Linked DNA regions of Homo sapiens: all the other regions are linked to region 1. The links are contacts of gene promoters, found by promoter capture Hi-C in blood cells and fetal thymus (Javierre and others, 2016). All regions are on one chromosome and are shown on one strand. The core of a region is centred on a gene start or on the middle of the fragment in contact, and the rest is flanking DNA. Distances in the headings are between cores, read along the strand shown. Region 1 holds the start of SPATA32 (spermatogenesis associated 32). Region 2 overlaps ARHGAP27 (Rho GTPase activating protein 27). Region 3 overlaps PLCD3 (phospholipase C delta 3).

Region 1 (3,557 bases), core at 375-2,874:
GTACCAGAGCCAGCACACACCCATGACTTCCTACCCTTTGGCACTTGGTGCTGAGTGCTTTGCACATTCAGTCTTCATACCTACCCTATGCCCAGTTGGCCACGGCTCTCCTCTCACAGATGAGGAAACGTGTATGAGGTCATGCAGCTATTAAGAGCAGCACACGACCCAAAGGCAGGTCTGGCTGGCTCCAAACTCTGGGATGCTACTCACTGCACTGTCTTAAATCTCTTTAGTCTTCCAGTGGGACCACTGCAACTATGTCCCCCTCCAACCTGGATTTTCAATGACCTCAGAGTGAGCCTGCTACATCTCACTTGTCTCCGGTTACCCCCAGACTCCATGTGGCCTCTTGGTCTGATCTCTACCTTCATTTTTCATCTCTTGGCATCCAGCTTCCTGTCCCTCACCCTAAGCCGAAGCTACCCCCAGAGTACCGCAGGCCTTTCTGCACCCAGTGCCTTTGCAAATGCTATTTCTTATACCTGGAAAGCCTTCTTCTGGCAAAGTCCTACTCATGCCTGAAAGCCCAATTCAAATAATCAGTGTAATCCTCTCCATGACAGACCTGGCTGTCTAATCTACGTTTTACCTTACAGGCGTGAGCCACTGCACCCGACCTCTGGTTTTTTTTTTTTTTTTTTTGACAGGGTCTTGCTCTGTGGCCCAGGCTGGAGTGGCAGCATCATAGCTCACTGCAACTCCTGGGCTCCAGTGAGCCTCCCAGCTCAGCCTCCCAAGTAGCTGGGACTACAGGCTCATGCCGCCACACCTGTCTAATTTTAAACATTTCCTGTAGAGGACAAAGTCTCGCTATGTTGCCTAGGCTGATCTTGAACTCCTGGCCTCATGTGATCCTCCCACCTCTGCCTCCCGAAGTGTTGGGATTGCAGGCGTTGAGCCATCATGCCCACCTAATTTTTGACCGTTTTTAATGCTGGCCCATGCCCTTCTGGGAGAGAGGATCCCCAAAAGAAAGCCACCATTTCAGTGGGGGATCTGACGCCCCTATGGGAAGGGGAGACACAGGGCACTGGGGGCAAACATCTTTGCTCATTGGTTCAGAGAAGAGTACAAGGCATCAACGAAGCGCTCCGTAAAAATGTGCTGAAGACTGCCGCTCCTCCCTGCAAAGCCTCAAGCATCAAGGAGGGACAACTGGATGTGATTTTTTGGATCTGCAGTTCAGGATAATTCATGAGTCGTTTCCTGTGCACAAGGCCATTGCTCCTTCTGTGGTCTCAGAACCCCTTCAAGAACCACTGACTCTGCAGTCCCTACTCCAAGGCGCGCATGCGTGTCCGTGAGAGCACATGGGTGTGCACCGCGCAGGGGCTGAGGCTGGGAGCCGTAGTCAGGGGCACCGGGTGGGCTTTGGCGGCGGGTCGACCTGCCTTTCAGGTGCCGGGGGTTTGGGAGCAGGGGAACGGGCCCTGGGCGGATTCCTGACCGCCCCCTTCGCGCCCCTCCCCCTCTCACTTTCGCTTTCCCCGCCTGCCCCAACCCTCGCCCCCGGGCGCTCGGCCGCTCCCACCTGTCACCCCCATGCAGACCGAGGCTCTGTCCTGGAGGCGGGGAGCGGGCTGGTGGATGCTGCCTCTCCGCCTCCAGTGTGCTCTTTGGCTGAGGGACTGGTGGGCGCTGGAAATATTAGAGGCGCCGGTGCCTGTGATGTCGCCGCCTCTGTGACGTCCCCGCCGCGACCCCACAGGCAGGGAGCCGCATTTAGGTTTCGGGCGGGCGGACGGGGGACGGCCCGAGTGAGGCGTCCTCCGAAGGCTGCGGGCCCGAAGCCAGAACTCCTTCCTCTCCGAAGACCTCGGGGGTGGGGCTCGCGCTTCCGCAGCGGGCCTAGAGCGAGAGGCAGGCGGCAGGTAAGCCTGGCTGTGCTGGACAGGACTTGCACCCGCTCTGCACGCCAGCGGCTCAGGGCTGCCGCCCTTTTCGTGGTCCCAGGGCCCTTCCAAGAACCGGCTAAACCAACCCAAGCCGCGCGCACACACACTTGTGCACACAGGGAGTGTGGAGCCAGATTCGATAAGGCACCCCGTGTGCCCCAGCTCCATGACCAAGGAACTCAGCACCCCGTGTGCCCCAGCTCCATGACCAAGGAACTCAGCACCCCGTGTGCCCCAGCTCCATGACCAAGGAACTCAGCCCACAAAGGCATCCCTGGCCCCATGCAGGGCTCAGGAGGCAGCGGAAAGGGTTAAGAGTCCAGGCCTCAAGGACAGGAGGGGAGGGTGGAGGGCCTGTGGTGTGCATCCGGCATCCCTGGATGGTCAGGGCCCAGAACCCATCCCTATTTCCCTTCTGGTGGTAGGGGGCTGCCTAACTTGGGCAGTGGCACAAAGCATGCAGGCTTTGTTGTCCTCCTCCTCCACCCCTCAGCCTGGCATATTTTGGCGAGGGACTTCCCTGATGCCACCGGGCAAGGTATCTTGCCTAACTGGTCTGAATGACTAGCCCAGCGTTGGGACTAGAAGCAGCCACTGGGAGGAGTGGTGGGAAAGCAGCCCCACTCAAGGGCTGAAACAGTCCTTGTCCAAAACAAGGGGGACTTGAAAAGATCTCAGCAAGAAGGCAAAGAGAGGCAGCTGTTAGGGTCGTGAGGTTCAGCAGGCCGGCAGGCAAGAGAGAGGACACCGATGGCCTGGAAACATTTGTCATCACCCCAAACTTTATTGCTTACAAAGAGTTCTCTACAACCCAGACTCTGCAGTACCAAGGCTGCAGTTCTTTATGTGCTGGGGGCCGGGGCTCTCTCCCCGGGAGCAGTCTGACTCAATGTGGACAGCTGGACAAAGGCTGTCTTGGCAAGATGTGGGAATGAGCTTCTCCCACGGAGTCTCGGCGTCCCCTGCCCCAGGAGGTTGAGGCTAGCAGACACCCCCTGACGATTCACAGCTGATTTAATGCTACGTGAGTCCTGAGTAGCTCCCCTGGGAGAAGAGGCTAAGCTGGGGCAATGGGGAAGGGGGTGCTATTCTTAGAGAAATCTGGAAGAGGTTTGAGGAGTCACATGCATGTGGACAGCTCAAGACTGTGTCCCTTCACCCCATCTCCTGGCTTGCTATGCTCCTACAGTGTCACTGCCCTGCCCTGCCCTGCCAGAGGGCAGCCATGAAAGTGCTTTGAGGTCATCAGAGTGCAAAGTGCCGTCGGCAGTACCCTCTGGCCAGGGGCAGGGCAGGGTGAGTGTCAGTGTGATGCTGAGCTGTGCTCTGGGGAACCAGCACGCTGGACACTGATAGTGGGGCTGGGGCGCCGGAGCGTCTCTCTCTGCTGCTTTCCTTAGCACTGATCATGTCCATCCACAGACTGTTCCTGTCAGGCATATCCTGCATCACCCTTCACCTTTACAGATGAGGGAACTGAGTGCCAGCGAGTCTGGGGCAGTGCTGGGCCTGAAGGGGCTCGGGGCCTGCTGCTCTGGGGAAGAGTGGTAGCCAGCAGCAAAGGGGCACATGTCTGGGGACTGAGAACCACTTCACTTACACACCTTCTTTGGTCCTTGGCTGAACCAGAGGTCAACTCAGGACCTGTGTTGCAACAAC
Region 2 (3,522 bases), core at 660-3,159, 140 kb after region 1:
ATCCCACCAAGTCCCTCCTCCCAGGAACTCCAGAAGCCCCCCACTGCTTCTGTGGTGGTCCTGCCAGGACCTCAATGGCTCCTCCCCTACCTTCTCCTCTGGAGGGCTGGCCTGGGCTGGGGTGTCACCATCCTGGCTGGATTTATGGATGCTTCGAGGGGCAGGGACAGGGACCTGGGGAGAAAGACACAGTCGTATATGATCTCTTCCTCTCTCCCCAACACCCCCCTTTCCCCAGGTTGTTACCTGGGGCAGCTCCCATCGAACAGAGGAGTCCTCTGGATTGTAGAAGTATGGCTTCCCGTGGGGGTCCTCCAGCCTCACCCACTGTGGGGAGAGGAATGGTCAGGGCCTCCAGCCCAGCTTATGAGAGGGGAGGAAAAGTTTCCCTCTAACCAGGTTCCAAGACAGCACCAGGGAGTCTGGAGGGGCAGGTGCAGGTGACTGTGTTTGGCTGGTTTAGGCTCTGTGTGGGAGCTGCGGTTTAGAGCACTGAGGCGACCTATTAGTGAGGAAGGTTGTGGGGAGGACTCTGAGGCTGTCCGGGTCCATCTGCCCCCTGCCCCTACCTGCTCCTGAGTGAAGTGGTTGGTGTAGAGCATCTGCTTGTCCTGGCTGACATGACAAGACCAGCCGGGGGGTGTGGTCAAGGGAGAGGTAGGGCCGGGCTCACCGAAAGAGCCCACGGGAGAATAGTCCTCCTCGGGGTAACTGGTCAGCGACTCGGGGTAGTCCGTCTCGGGAGTGGGGGGCTGCGGGGAACAGAAGGTGGAGTCAGAGGCTCTGAGTGCCAGTACTGCCTGCTGGCCCTGCCGTTTTGGACCAGGCCCACCCCCTTGCCTTCTGGTCCCTGAGGCTGTGGGAGCAGGAGGCGGGGTCAGAAGCGCTCAGAGGTAGCTCCGCACCTCACCCTCTGGTCCCTGGGGCTGTGGGAGCAGAAGGCGTCAGAGGTAGCCCCGCCCACTCCAGCCCTGCCCCTCACCTTCTGGTCCCTGGGTCTGCAGAAACAGGAGGCGGGGTCAGAAGCGCTTAGAGGTAGCCCCACCCATCCTGCCCCACCCCTCACCCTCTGGTCCTTAGGTCTGTGGGAGCAGGAGGTGGGGTCAAAGGCGCTCAGAGGTAGCCCCGCCCACTCCAGCCCCGCCCTTCACCCTGGGGTCCCTGGGTCTGTGGGAGCAGGAGAAGGGGTCAAAGGCTCTCAGAGGTAGCCCCGCCCACCCATCACCACCCCCTCACCCGTGTGTCCCTGGGCCTCTGGGAGCAGGAGGCGGGATCAGAGGCGCTCAGAGGTAGAACCGCCCACTCTGGCCCTGCCCCTCACCCGCGGGTCCCCTGGGCTGCCAGGGCTCAGGCCCGGCTGCATCTCCAACTCCTCCTCGGGCTCGTTCTCGGCCTCGTCCTCCCAGGCCGTCTCGCCCGTCAGCGGGTTGTAGAAGAACACCCTGCGGCTCTCCTCATCCCAGTACTGGCCCCACTCGGTCTCAAGGCTCACGTGGCTGTCCACCGAGGCAGGGGAGGTGGCTGGGCTGGCGGCACCCTCGGCAGCCTCAAAGGGCGACTCCCAGGTGGTAACTCCCGTGTCTGGGTTGTAGTAGTAGGGGCGCCCGGTGCCCGCGTCCGTGTGCGTCTCCCACACCGGGCTGGGAAGGGGGGCTGCAGCGGCGCCCGGTGAAGTGGCCCGGGGCTGCCTCTCTATGTTCGCGTACACGGGCTCCGGTGGGTCGTCCACCTGCGGGAGGAGAAAGGAGGAATTTTGTGTTTTCAGAAACCTTCCAAAATGGTAACAGAGGTCCCCTCTGGGCAGTGCGATTATAGGGGTTTATTTGTTTTCGCTTTATTTTCTTTAAACTTTTCTGCAGCCTCAAAATTTTGTACAACAAAGCATTTTAAAAATCACGTAAGTTCTTCTGCTCACTGTGACACCATCACTAAGCCGTAAACTCCTTGAAAGGGGAAGTGCCTGTTAGAAGTGGCCTCTTCTTGAGCTTTAGCCCCTTGGGCGACCTTCAGGAAGTCACACTACCTCTCTGCCTCAGTTTCCTGGGTGTAAAATGTCTGCTCTGTCCATTCCGGAAACTGTAGTGAAGAGTGAATGAGGAAATGCTCTTGAAAGTACTTTGTAAAGTATTTAGTGCCCCAGACGGGTGGGTCAATTACATTAATTATATTTATCAATAATAATAAAACATCGATAACCCAGTTCTCACAACTGTGCACTCACAGAGGCAAGTCAGAGGTTGGGCAGGAACTGAGAAGTGGTCTGGGGCGTGCCCCTGTTTATGGTGCCCATTCAGGGCCCTGCTGCATTCTTTTTTTTGAGATGGGGTCTAGCTCTGTCACCCAGGCTGGAGTGCAGTGGCGCAATCTTGGCTCACTGCAACCACCACCTCCTGGATTCAAGCTGCATTCTTACAGCTCCACTGAGAGCTCCCACCCCACCCCACTCTCAGCCCAGAAAGCTCTGGGATTGGAATCAGCACCCTGTCTGGATTTGGGGACTGAACTTTCCAAGGTGAAGTTTGCAGGTGTCAGAACCAATTCCAGACAAGAGAGGGAGACAGGACAGCCAGATGGGCTGGAGAATGGAGGGGCAAAGAGAGGTGAATTGTTTTACTCCACCCCAAAGGAGAGTGAGGGCAGCTGGGGGTTCAATCACATAGAACATAAACCTAGCCATGCGTAAGCCTCCCGGAACAGAGGCTCTCCTGATTCACACCTCAGAGCTCCCTGCTGGCTGCAGGGCAAAGTCTAAGCCCTTAACCAGGCACAAGAGACCGTCCCTCACCGGCCTGTGCTTCCACTATTATTTCCTGCCACTCCTTGCCCCTTGCCTTGAACTTTAAGCTCCAGTAGCACCAGTTGCTAGAGGTCCCCACCGTCCCTGCTGTGTTTCCTCCAGGCCTAGGCTCATCTGCAGCCTGCCCAGGCCCATCTCCACCCCTTTTTTTGCCTGGCTGACTCCAATTCCTTCTTCAGGATTCAGCTGAGGTGCCAGGTTCCAGCCTTTTCCTGAGATTCCCCCCATCCCCGTGCCCCCACATTCAGCCCAGCACCCTTGGCCCCACAGAGGGACAGATGACTACATTCTCAAACCCCAGGCAGCAGCATGGCATACGGAGATTACTACTATTTTCTTTTCTTTTCTTTTTCTTTTTCTTTTTTTTCTTTTTTTTTTTTTGAGATGGAGTCTCGCTCTGTCGTCCAGACTGGAGTGGAATGGTGTGATCTCGGCTCACTGCAACCTCCGCCTCCTGGGTTCAAGCGATTCTCATGCCTCAGCCTCCCAAGTAGCTGGCATTGCAGGCACGCACCACCACGCCTGGCTAATTTTTGTATTTTAGTAGAGATGGGGTTTTGCCCTGTTGGCCAGGCTGGTCTTGAACTCCTGACCTCAGGTGATCCGCCCACCAGGGCCTCCCAAAGTGCTGGGATTACAGGTGTGAGCCACCGCACCTGGCCAATTACTACTATTTTCTAAGCATACACAATACTTCAGGGGAAAGCAGATTTCCACATTTCAAT
Region 3 (3,679 bases), core at 472-2,971, 140 kb before region 1:
GGGGAGCTGATGATTCAGATGGCTGGGGGCAGGCAGAGGTCAGAGTGATGGCAGAGCCAGGGGCTGGGGTTCAGGGCGGAAGCCCACCTTGAAGAGGAGGTAGGCGTACATGTCGTTCATGTCCACGTTGACCATTCTCAGCAGGCTCTTGATCTCCTTGAAGCTCATCTTGCTGTCCTGGTTGGAGTCAGCCCGGTGCAGATAGGAGTGGATCCAGGTGTGGGTGCTCAGGAAATAACAGCAACACGCCAGGCTGCCCCCAGCCCTCAGGTAACTGGCTGGTAAGTCACCCCCACCTGGGTCTGGGGGATCCCCAGTTTAGGGGCTGTACTTTCCCCTTGGCCTGTGCACTCCCCGAGCACGGTAGCAGTGTCTCCTCCGCAGGACTGGGGCTTACCAAAGACAGGAGGCCCTGTCTTCACCCTCAGAAGGCCTCAGGCCTCCCTGAAGGAGGCGCCGCGCCACCCCTCCTGGTGGGAGCTTGGGCCTAGCCAGGGCGCGTGTCCCCACCCTCAGTTTCGAAGACCAAGGGCTCCGACCCAGACCGTGCGCCCTCAGGACAGGGCCCTGCCTTCCCTGGGCGTGGGGGCTCTCCAAGGATGGGGCTCTCCAAGGTTAGGGCTCTCCAAGGATGGGGCCCTCCCTCCCAGCCCCGGCAGGATATTGGTCTAGCCGCTCGCGCTGGCTCATGGCGTCCAGGCGCGCGCGGAGCTTGGTCAGACCGCGCACCCAGCGCTGCGCTTCCTCAGCCGTGGGCGCCGCCAGGTCCAGGTTCTTGCGGCGGCCCTTGAAGGCGATGGTGAGGCAGCGCGCTGGCGCGAAGGCACCCCCGAAGCGCCGCAGGCCCTCGGACTGGTGGCCCTCGCGGACCGCCTCGATGTGCTGCACGAAGACTGAGAGGAGGGCCGGGTCAGGGCGGAGGACCGGGCCTGTCCCCACCTCCCTGTCCGCCCGGCGCTCCCCGGCCTCTCACAGATGTGCTGCGATGGCGCACGCGGGATGCGCCGCTGGAACCACACGCTCAGGCCGTCCTCCTGCAGCCGGTACAGCCGCTCCTTGTGCCACGTGCGCGAGCGGATCTTGCGGAGCCGGGAGCCCCGCAGCATGGCGCGCACGTCCTCGTCCTCCGTCAGGCCTGGCGGGGCGGGAGGACCCGGGGCGTCAGGCCGTACCTGCCCAGAGGCTCCCCTGCCCTCCCCCGCTAGGACCTGCTGCCCCATCCTCCAGCCTCTCCAAACCCAGGCCTTCATCCCACAGTAAGCTTCCCTCCCCCTCACAGGACTCCCCTCCTCCCCGATTGTAAGAAGCCTCCTGCACTGGGTTTGGCTTTAGGCTTTGGAGCCCTAAACGCCCCCCAACCCGTACCCCATCTCCCTCCTTCCTTCCAAGCAGCGGCCTCTGCAGTCCCTCAGTGTGGAACTGCCCTCGGACAATGCCTGGGACTCAGGCCTCACTAAAGGTTGCCCTTTCTGGCAGGGCGCGGTGGCTCACGCCTATAATCTCAGCACTTGGGAGGCCGAGGTGGGTGGATCACTTGAGGTCGGGAGTTCGAGACCAGCCTGGCCAACATGGTGCAACCCCACCTCTACTAAAAATACAAAATTAGCTGGGTGTGGTGGCACATGCCTGTAATCCCAGCTACTTAGGAGGCTGAGGTTGCCATGAGCCAAGATTGTGCCACTGCACTGCAGCCTAAGCGACAGAGTGAGACTGCGTCTTAACAAAAAAAAAAAAAAATTGCCTTTTCTGCCACTATCCCCCACCACATGGCTTCCAGCCTTCAAGTCCAGAATTTGCCACCAACAGCCTTTTTCCCTTGATGTGAAACCGTAGCCATCAGGAAGGTCTCACCATCTAACCTAGATCTCTCTTGCTGTAACCCAAGCACCTTGCCTCTGCTTTCCCAAAGACAAGGAGGACAGCAGAGGCCACCCTGGCTCCAGGGTCACAGGCCAAGGACTCCAGGATCAGCCCTGCCCAGCTGATCTCCAGGCATGGGAGGCTGAGGCATGAGAATCACTTGAATCCGGGAGGCGGAGGTTGCAGTGAGCCAAGATTGCGCCACTGCACTCCAGCTTGGGCAACAGAGTGAGACTCTGTCTCTAAAAAATAAATAAATAAAAGCATCTCCTGTGTGCAGGCCCTGCTCATGTACTAATAGACAAGGAAACTGAGGCTCAGGGAAGCTTAAGTAAGTTGTCAGAATTCCATACTGGTAGAAGCCACTTTGGGCTCTGGAGGTCGGGGTCCAGCGCCTCTGACCTTTGGCCCTGCACTGCACGGCTCTTCTAGTGCTTCTAAATTCCGAAGTCTGGGGAGTAAGTCTCAACACTGTCACTTCCCAGTTATTTAATACATGGCCCCAGTGGCACTAACCTGTCACTAAGCCTCATGTTCTCCATCCATAAAATGGAGACCACAATCATACCTGCTGCAAAATCCAAAATTCAGAGGTTTCTACAGCGTGACCGACACTGTGCCCCGGAGAGTTTCGGCCCTCTCCTGGCTCTGGCCCCCTGGAACACGTGATGCCCAGCCCAAACAGTGCCACACCCTGCTCTACAATGCCTCAACGAGAGTCACAACCAAAGATTTTTGAGTCAGAGGACAATAGAGGAGGTGGGAACTGGGTAAACGGAGAGTCCATGGCCTTTGGAGGTGGGGCACAGCCCGGAGTGAATGAGGGCCCAGAGTTTCCAGAGAACCGAATATAGATCTGTGTGTGAAGCCTCCAGATATTCTAATGTTGACAACGAAATCAAATTGAAAAAAAATAAAAATCAATAACCCCTGTGTGGGCCAAAAGAAGTAAGACAGAGGGCCTCTCTTCCTCCCTTTATTTCGACAAGCCCCTAATACTGGGTTTGGCTTTGTGACCCCAAGGCCCTGGCTTGCCCAATTGCAAATTCTGACCTAAGGAATTGAGTCTATATCTCTGGACCATCTCCTCTCACCCTCTCTTGGACCCTTTTGTAGGATCCTTCTCCCTTCTCTTCCTCCTATCTGAGTCCTTGAAGGACCAGTTCAGATATCACCTCCTCCAGGAACCCTTCCTTGATTTGTCCTCAAGTGGACATTCTCCCTCTCTGACCACTAACAGCACTTTTTGCTTTAATTAAAATAAAACACAAAACCCACCTATATACTTTAATAAATCTGAGGGCGGAATGAGGTCTTATCTCCTCACCACAGTGCTCATCCCAGAGCCAGGATACCAGCTAGTGTTGACTGAAGGGGCAGACAGGTAGACGGACAGATGGGGGGACTAAGTGAATTCTATCCCCAGCTCTGCCCCATCTGTCCAGAGTTCAGGACAGAGGCCTCGCAGGGCAGAGGCCTCGCAGGTCAGGGTTTCTCAACCTTAGCTGTGCATCGGAATTACCCAGGGGAGGCTGCAGACACCACAGCCCAGGGCATCTCACCCAGCTGGTGTGGGATGGGGCCTGGGCATCTGTATTTTTAAAACCCACTTTGACCATGACTGAAAATCAGGGTCTCAGGGGCAAGAGGAGAAATCCACCTCCTTAAGAGGCCATGACCCCTTGGGGCCAGCCTGTGGCCCTAACAGCTCCAGAGGGTCCCTCAGGGTCTAGACTGTGGCCCTCTGAGTGAATGCCCACTCGGTACCCCCTGGTCAGGAAGGGGAAAGTGGAACCCTCCTCTTTCCAGACAAAGAGCT

Evidence for each region. The method cuts DNA at HindIII sites, captures the fragments that hold promoters and counts their contacts. A CHiCAGO score of 5 or more calls a contact.
Region 2: a contact is called between a fragment that was not itself captured here and the fragment with the promoter of SPATA32 in region 1, in 15 of 17 cell types (activated CD4 T cells, monocytes, non-activated CD4 T cells and 12 more). The highest score is 12.1, in activated CD4 T cells.
Region 3: a contact is called between a fragment that was not itself captured here and the fragment with the promoter of SPATA32 in region 1, in 1 of 17 cell types (neutrophils). The highest score is 6.5, in neutrophils.

What each region holds. Positions count from the first base shown.
Region 1 is chr17:45,260,470-45,264,026 of GRCh38, forward strand. SPATA32 (spermatogenesis associated 32) reads right to left here and starts at 1,625. Exons shown (of 5, transcript NM_152343.3): 1 at 1,535-1,625. The coding sequence starts at 1,547. MAP3K14 (mitogen-activated protein kinase kinase kinase 14) reads right to left here. Exons shown (of 16, transcript NM_003954.5): 16 at 2,650-3,557. The region is part of intron 2 of MAP3K14-AS1 (MAP3K14 antisense RNA 1); the gene reads left to right. RefSeq lists silencers at 1,269-1,388, 1,459-1,508 and enhancers at 1,457-2,062, 1,539-1,628, 2,063-2,666. The HindIII fragment of the contact is 9,151 bases long and covers 1-3,557 here.
Region 2 is chr17:45,404,355-45,407,876 of GRCh38, forward strand. It overlaps ARHGAP27 (Rho GTPase activating protein 27), which reads right to left. Exons shown (of 20, transcript NM_001282290.2): 5 at 1,322-1,729; 6 at 570-752; 7 at 247-327; 8 at 91-174. Among named protein-coding and RNA genes, the nearest start is that of ARHGAP27, 27 kb to the right of the region's middle. The HindIII fragment of the contact is 9,114 bases long and covers 1-3,522 here.
Region 3 is chr17:45,120,238-45,123,916 of GRCh38, forward strand. It overlaps PLCD3 (phospholipase C delta 3), which reads right to left. Exons shown (of 15, transcript NM_133373.5): 2 at 974-1,135; 3 at 665-893; 4 at 88-217. Among named protein-coding and RNA genes, the nearest start is that of MIR6784, 7.6 kb to the left of the region's middle. RefSeq lists an enhancer at 532-1,069. The HindIII fragment of the contact is 925 bases long and covers 1,260-2,184 here.